Regions from separate parts of the Homo sapiens genome. Here region 1 is linked to region 2. Evidence: promoter capture Hi-C in 16 types of primary human blood cells and fetal thymus (Javierre and others, 2016). All regions are on one chromosome and are shown on one strand. The core of a region is centred on a gene start or on the middle of the fragment in contact, and the rest is flanking DNA. Distances in the headings are between cores, read along the strand shown. Region 1 has its middle 24 kb from the start of STEAP1B-AS1. Region 2 holds the start of NUP42 (nucleoporin 42).

The links. The method cuts DNA at HindIII sites, captures the fragments that hold promoters and counts their contacts. A CHiCAGO score of 5 or more calls a contact.
Region 1: a fragment that was not itself captured here is called in contact with the fragment with the promoter of NUP42 in region 2 in 1 of 17 cell types (monocytes); the score reaches 5.6 in monocytes.

What each region holds. Positions count from the first base shown.
Region 1 is chr7:22,585,229-22,589,274 of GRCh38, reverse strand. No RefSeq gene overlaps it. Among named protein-coding and RNA genes, the nearest start is that of STEAP1B-AS1, 24 kb to the right of the region's middle. The HindIII fragment of the contact is 2,258 bases long and covers 1,293-3,550 here.
Region 2 is chr7:23,180,358-23,184,481 of GRCh38, reverse strand. NUP42 (nucleoporin 42) reads right to left here and starts at 2,434. Exons shown (of 7, transcript NM_007342.3): 1 at 2,276-2,434. The coding sequence starts at 2,396. RefSeq lists enhancers at 2,070-2,139, 2,240-2,839. The HindIII fragment of the contact is 4,881 bases long and covers 1,374-4,124 here.

The sequences.
Region 1 (4,046 bases), core at 1,172-3,671, 600 kb after region 2:
AGTTGTAGTGAGCTGAGATTGAGCCACTGCACTCCAGCCTGGGCAACAGAGCAAGACTCCGTCTCAAGAAGAAAAGAATGATCCCAGCACTTTGGAAGGCTGAGCAGGTGGATGACCTGAGGTCAGGAGTTGAAGACCAGCCTGGCCAACATGGTGAAACATCTCTACTAAAAATACAAAAATTAGCTGGGTGTGGTGGTGCGTGCCTGTAATCCCAGCTACTCGGGAGACTGAGGCAGGAAAATTGCTTGAACCGGGAGGTGGAGGTTGCAGTGAGCTGAGATCATACCACTGTACTCCAGCCTGGGCAACAGAGTGAGACTCTGTCTAAAAAAAGAAAGAAAGAAAGAGAGAGAGAAGAAAGAAAGTAAAAATAAAATAAAGAGGTCTAGCTGGCAGCACCAGGGCCATCAGCCAATAGTGGGATTAGGGATGGCTACTACTGGAAAAAACTGCACACTGGGATTGCCTCTTGTTCAATATATGACATCTGCATTGATTCTAAATCCTCCCTACATGGAATTAGGCAATGGTGTGCTGTTAGCTTGCTCTTTGAAAAGAAAGAGAGGAAGAAAAAAGATCCTGGTCTGTAATATCAGCCAATATTTCAGTGTAAATATTCTGACTGTGGCCAGCTTCCAGCTACCAAGATTGACCTGCTCAAAAGATTCCTGAATATTTAACAACCAGCTCTCTGGGGCTGGTACCCACAGCTCCAGCATACCACTGGCTAAGATACAGATTGCTACTCACCACTTCCAGCTTTGGCTTTGCCACTATTAGATGTATGCTCTGTAGCAAGCTCTTAATTTCCTCAAACTGCAGTTCTCTTTTGAAAAATGGGAGCTGAGATGATGCAGTAACGATATTTAGAGTCTCTGCTGAGCCTACACCACTCTTCTCTGAGAACCGCATCCTTCCTGGTGCTCCCTACTGGTGCCATATTCCACCTGATTTTTCAACTTCATTTTGGAGTCTAGCAGATATCCCAACTGCTTCCAATAAATGCCCTTCTGCACTCAGGCCAGTCTGAGTGGGATTTTGTAAGTTGCAACCAGCAGCGCTCTAAGTAAGGCAGAAATGATTTCCAAGGCCTTTGTGAGTTCTGATATTGCACCATTTGTTCTCAGAGTGTGCTGCCGACCAGCAGCATCAACTTCACCTGGGACATGTTGGAAATGTCAGTTCTCAGGGAACCACCGCAGACCTATTAAATCAGAAACTCTAGGGATGGGACCCAGCAACTTGTGTTTTTACAAGCTTTCCAGGTGATTCCCATGTGTTCTCAAGCTTGAGAACTGCTGCATCACTGTTCTAAGGATGGTATGACTTATTTGAGAAAGGCATTTTCAGACTGATCCAGTTTTCTTTTCTGATTAATGAAGGCCAAAAGTTAATGTTTTACTGGTAAAAAAAATTGATTTTTATAAACGAAACATATTACTATTACAACTTGAAAGACATCAATTTCCTTTTCTCCTTCTTTCTTATTTTAGTTTCAATGGACAGAGACTGACGTTTCAAAGACTAGCCTAAAAGAATATAAGGAGAAGAAAAGTGTAGAGAATGAAAATACTGCCAATAAATAAGCGGAAATAAAAAATATGCACCAGATAATTTCAAGATAGTGAAGGCCAGAAAGAAATACAGAACAGGAAGCCCAGATGCTGTGTGGTTTTTGCATTGGAAAAGATTTCACAAAATGTGCCATTAACACATTGAGTGACTAATCATTTCTGGCATTAGGAAACCATTTAAGAGTCCACTAATGATTGATTTACATAAGTACAGTAAAAAGTGAAACAGGAAACTTTGACTTAACTTCATCCTGACATATATCAAAAGCACAGTTTTCACTGTAAGATTTGGAGAGATGTGGCTAGATAGCAATTTTCACTATAAAATAGTCTTGAACAGACCATTCGAATGGATAGAGCTTGTTGGTAAGCTGGTTGTTTGAAACTAACACTTTTTTTTGTATGGAAAATCATGCCTTTGGAGAGCAGACTGCAGACTGGACGATGGAATCCTTAATGGAAGTAAACTGGAGGGCTGGTAATTGGTAATCATGCAGGTGATTGGGAGGAGAGGGGCCCAGGAGAGGAGCTGCACTGGGTAGAGAGGGGAGAGAGGGGAGAGAGGGGAGAGAGAGAGAGAGAGAGAGAGAGAGAGACAGAGAGAGAGACAGAGAGAGAGACAGAGAGAGACAGAGAGAGAGAGACAGAGAGAGAGAGAGAGAGAGAGAAAATTGGGGAAGGACAGAGTCCTCTAGTGGGAGGAATGCAGTCTGAAAGGGGCTCCCTTTCCAGAAATGTCAACAGTATGGGGCCTGAGGGTAGAGGAAGGTTCTGCAGCTGAGTGACTGAGAAAAACAAACTGTATTTTTCACCATGCTTACACTCACACTTCACTTCTGGCTGCCAAATGTATAGGGGTTATTCTGTGTGGGAATAATTCTCCAGTTCTCTGCAGACACCAACTGGATGTCCAACTCCAGGCTGCACTGATGAATACAGAGCACAGACCCCACAAGACTGCCCCTACTCCAGTGCCAGTAGTAAGTCCCAGCTTGTGATCTGTACTCTGAATCAAGGGTTCCCATGACCCCCTTCTCAGGTTCAGTCATTTACTAGAACAGCTCACAGGGCTGGGAAACACTTAATGTTTACTGGTTTATTACAAAGGCTACAGATAAACAGTCAGATTAAGAGATACACAGGGTGAGGTCCGGAATGGTGCAGGGCACGGGAACTTCTGTCCCTGTGGAGCTGGAGTGTGTCAGCCTCCCAGCACATGGACGGATTCTTATTCACAAACCCAGAAGCTCTTTGAGCCCTGTCCTATTGGGTTTTTATGGAGATTTCACTATGTAGGGCATGATTGATTTAAATCATTGGCCGTGGTGATTAACTCAACTTTCAGCCCCTCCCTGAAGGTGAGAGGCTGATGCTGAAAGTTCTAACCCTCTAATTACATACTTGTTTCCCCTGGCAGCTAGCCTCCCTCCAAGGCTCTCCAGGAGGCCCCAGCCGTTAGTCATCTCACCTTAGAATACAAAAGATACCCTTCTGAGATTATATTAAGATTATATTATAATATTTCTTATTATAAATCACAATATCTCAATGACCAAATATGTATGTTATCAGTATGTTGGACAAACAAGTTGGGAGCTGCCCTACTTGCAAACCGCTGCTGTGCCCACACTCCATTGTGGTATAGATGTCTGAAGCGAGTTTGAATAGCACAGTGGTTATGACTTTTGGCTTTGCTGTCAGATGGATGTTGGTTGGAACCCAATTCCTCCAGTTACCTGCTGCGAGACTTTGGGCTAGTTACTAAAACATACTGTGTCTTAGTTTCCTCACCTATAAAATGGTGATGATAAGGTAACAATAAAAAATATATATGGCCCGTGCCACCAAATATGTATATAACTGTGCCACCACCACAGAGTTCCTAAACTTTTTAAATTTCCTGAATGATAGAGGTGCTAGGTACATTATTGTTCTAATATTTAGTCTGTGATCCTGATTCCTGACACAAAGCTTCTAATTCTTTGGAATTTTCTGGGTAATAGGAGCTTCTTTTGTTCGAATAAGACAACTCTTGCTAGACTCCTAGAAGGGGGCTGGTCATCAGAAAGATTAAGCCATGATTAGAAGGTTGGAATTTTCAGCCCCATTTTCTATCCTCCAGGGAGGAAAGAGGGCCTGGAGATTGAGTTACTAATTGGTCATTCCTATATAAAAATCCCTCAACTATGAGTTTCAGGGAGCTTCCGGGTTGGGAAGCATACACAGAAGCTGGGAGCATGGTGCATTTCAATTCCACGAGGACAGAAGCTCCTGCACCCGGCCCCTTTTGGACCTCACCCTCTGTATTTCTTCATCTGGCTGTTCATCTATATCCTTTATCCTATTTTTTAACACAATAAACTGGTAATGGTAAGTTAGTGCTCCTCTGTGTTCTGTGACCCTTCCTAGCAAATATTCAAACCTGAGGAGGGTGTTGTGACAACTCTGATTAATAGCCAGTCCATCAGA
Region 2 (4,124 bases), core at 1,185-3,684:
GCTTATTAAATGAACAACTGCTTGATAGTTAAAAGTTGACAGAAGGCATGCATCATAAATCATAAACTCCTTCAGGATAAAAACTTGGGTTTTTATCATTCTTTGCTCCCCCACCAGGCCCTATACTGTAGTAAAGGCTGAAAAATGGACATTGAATTAAAGTTTCTCGAATATGAAAGATTACATTCTACCCTCTGTTTTTGTACAGATGCTTAAGTCTATTTGACGCAGTCTTTTCTCTGGGCAAACACCTACACACCTATTTTCACAGAGAGATTATACATGGTATTTACATGTGTACAGAATGCATGTAGTTCCTCTACCAGCTTTCCAATATTTCATAAATATCAAAATGAGCCAAAAAGATTCTCTCCTCTCTTTATATATTGGTTTTGTTTTGTTTTTTAAAATCATTTTAGCAATCTCATTTACTCATCACTTCCTAGTTGGGGCCAAGATTAAGGTAATTCATCTTGTTTCTGACTGAATAAAGAGATAAGCCATTAATTATATTAAAAGTTAGAATGACACACATGCCCAGTTGTGAAAGTTCATCCTGCAACTCTAAACTACCCTAAAAAAAAAAAAAAAAAAAGTGGAGATTGCTAGACCAGATCCCTCAAGTAGAAGTTAATGGTATCTTCTTCTTCTAAAGTTCCAAATTCACTGGGGGATGATACAACTGAAGAAACTCACTTCCTCCTTTTTTTTTTTTTTTTTTTTTTTTACATTGCTTTTGGTCTTCATACTTATAATTCCAGAAACATTCATTTGTTTCTGGGAGCTAAATACAATTTGTCTGCCAAATTTTGTTTACACTCACATTCATCAGACATGAGTCCTAATTTTCGGTCTGAAATATTTCACTAGATTAATTGTGGAGGAAATAAAAGGACTGTCTTCCCTGAAGTGGGATCAGACGTGAAACCATCACGCAATACAAGGTTTAAAGGTTAGATGAGGCCCGCCGCGGTCGCTCACGCCTGTAATCCCAGCACTTTGAAAGACGGAAGCGGGAGTATCACCTTAGGTCACGAGTTCGAGACCGGTATGGCCAAAATGGCAAAACCCTGTCTCTACTAAAAATACAAAAATTATCAAGGGCATGGTGGCGGGCACCCGTAATCCCAGCTACTCGGGAGACTGAGGCATAAGAATCGCTTGAGCCTGGGAGGCGGAGGTCGCAGTGAGCCGCCTGACTGAGAGAGCAAGACTCCGTCTCAAAATAAAATAAAAAAATAAAGGTCAGATGAATAGCCCTAAAGGAGGGGAAGGAAGGGAGACAGCACCGAATTATTAACCCGATCTTTAAAAATCTTGTGTTGTTCTAAGGTTTCATGTCTAATCTCTCCTTTCCTTGAAGATAAAAAGCTTTGACAATGATCTAGGCCCAGGGACTAGATCAACGTGGCCCCCGCATCTCCTTTCCTCACCTCCCGGATAGCCCTTAACTGGGCGTCCCACATTCCCAATTTCACCCCAAATTTATGAGCAGGTGCATTTTTGCGGTATGGCTCTATAGGTTTTATTAGATTTTCTTTTTTTCTTTTCTTTCTTTCTTTTTTTTTTTTTGATAGTCTCGCTCTGTCGCCCAGGCTGGAGTGCAGTGGCACGATCTCGGCCCACTGCAACCTCCACCTCCCGGGTTCAAGCGATTCTCCTGTCTCAGCCTCATGAGTAGCTGGGATTACAGGCGCGCGCCACCACGCCCGGCTATTTTTTTTTTTTTTTTTTTTTTTGGTATTTTTAGTAAAGACGGTGTTTCACTATGTTGGTCAGGCTGGTCTCAAACTCCTGACCTCGTGATCCGCCCGCCTCGGCCTCCCAAAGTGCTGGGATTACAGGCGTGAGCCACCGCCCGGCCGGTTTTATTAGATTTTTTCAAAGAAGTCCACGACTTCTCCAAAATGAAGTCCTGATTCTGACCCAAGCTGCTAGCCTCACCCTCGAAAAAACAACTTAGTAAAAATTATATTCAATTCCGGCATTTACCTACAAGGTAGTTTCGATAGGTACTTCCGATTTAAAAACTCAGTTTCGCACAAGCATCCAGGCCCAAACCCAGGTCCTCAGAAGCTCAATAAAAACGGACCACATGAATAATATGTAGATAAAACCCTCGGTTTAAAAACGTTGTGCAGGGCCCAGTAGGGCCGGCAAGGCCGCGACGCGGGCACGTTGGGGTCACCAGCAGCGGGAAACACGCGGGACGCCCGGTCCCCGCCGGCGGACCCTTCCCGGCTCGGTTACCGCGGAGGATTCAGAGGAGAGTCACCTGAAGGCTGCTGCTGCGGTTGCTGCCGTCCTCCTCCTGCACCCCTAGCACCGGGATGTTCGTTCCAGCACCGATCTCCAAAGCGGCACCGGCCTTGAAGGAAGAATTGACAAATGGCCATTGCGACGGCGTCGCTGACGGAGGGCGTCTTCAGTCTGCACCGTTCGATGCCTGTTACTGGGCAGAGAGCCCTAAGGCAACCTCGGCGCCCGGCCGGGCTACTGTGACGTCATCTTCTCGCGCCTGGGAAGGCCTTTTTCCGCCTCTCACCCGGCAGTGCCATGAGACGCATGGACTTGAGCCAATAGGACTTGAGAAGAGCGGACCGCTCTGACGCTTTGAGTGTGTCCTGGGAAGGAGGGATGCTTGAACGGTTACGTGAAGACCGGAGGCGCGTTTGACCCCGGTGCAGGGCCTCGGACTACAGGAAGGCTGGAGGTCCAAAATGAGAGGAAAGCGGAGCAAGCAAACGCAGAACTTCAGCAAGGCCCTCAGAGGAGAATTAGCTATGATTTGAGAGACTGAGTCGTTCTTGCTGAGACGGTAAAACTTAGCTTGGGCTGAGAAAGTAACAAACTGCCTAGCCTTTCATCTGGATGGATAACAGAGTCAAATAAAGCCAGACGACGTTAAGAGGAAACAATGTTTCTTTTAGGACATGCTGCAACGGAAAAGTATTACCACTTAAGTACATTCTTACTACACACTGAGAAACCTTGTTATTTCTTCTTTTTTTTTTTTTTTTTTGAGACGGAGTCTCGCTCTGTCGCCCAGGCTGGAGTACAGTGGCAGAGCTTGGAGGCAAGCTCTGCCTCCAAGGTTCATGCCGTTCTCGTGCCTCAGCCTCCCGAGTAGCTGGGACTACAGGTGCCCGCCACCACGCCCGGCTAATTTTTTTGTATTTTTAGTAGACACGGTTTCACCGTGTTAGCCAGGATGGTCTCTATTTTCTGACCTCGTGATCCGCCCGCGTCCGCCTCCCAAAGTGCTGCGATTACAGGTGTGAGCCACCGCGTCTGGCCGAAACCTTGTTCTTTCAAGTCCACATAAACGTTGCTATTTGAAATTATATCAGAACGAGTGAAAAGTCCCATCCTTGCCTGGAGGATCTAAGTCTCTTTGACGCAGAGAAGCAGCCTCAATTTCTATCCAGGTGTAGAGCTTCAGATAAACGGTTCTGAAAACATTCTGTATTTTCTTAACTTTGCAGTTTCCAAGGAAACATGCCCTACATTCAATTCTCGTCCAGACCTGATGTTAATGCCTTTACACACAGCTATGCTTTGAGATTTCATTTAAATTTCACCTAAACTTCACTCTCCCCGCCAAAACATACAATAACTACCTTTTATTTTGTACGGTGAGACACACCACAGCTCCTCTGGTGTGCAGTCTTCTTGATTGCAATAAGTCAATAGATCTGACTTTGTTGGATTACAGGTTTGTGCTGGTGGTTTTAGGATTATTGAGCTGGGAGTGAGCCATCATTCTTGCTCATGTAATTTGTTTGGATTTTGAAGACAGCAGAATCTACAGGACGGGAACTACTTGTCCAAACTAGTTTTTTATTTTCTTTAATCAATGCAATTCATTTATTTTGAAACAAATTTATGGAAAAGTTACAAATAACAGTACAAAGAACTTTTTTCCTGAACCATTTGAGACTATGTTGCAGACCTAATGCCCCATGATCCAAATACTTATTGTATATTTTCTACAAACAAACCAGGGCATTCTACATAACCACAACACAGCCAACAAAATTAGGACATTGATACTGATGCACTACTACTCTCTAATCCTTAGACTCCATTTATGTTTTGCCAAATGTCCCAATATTGTCCTTTAG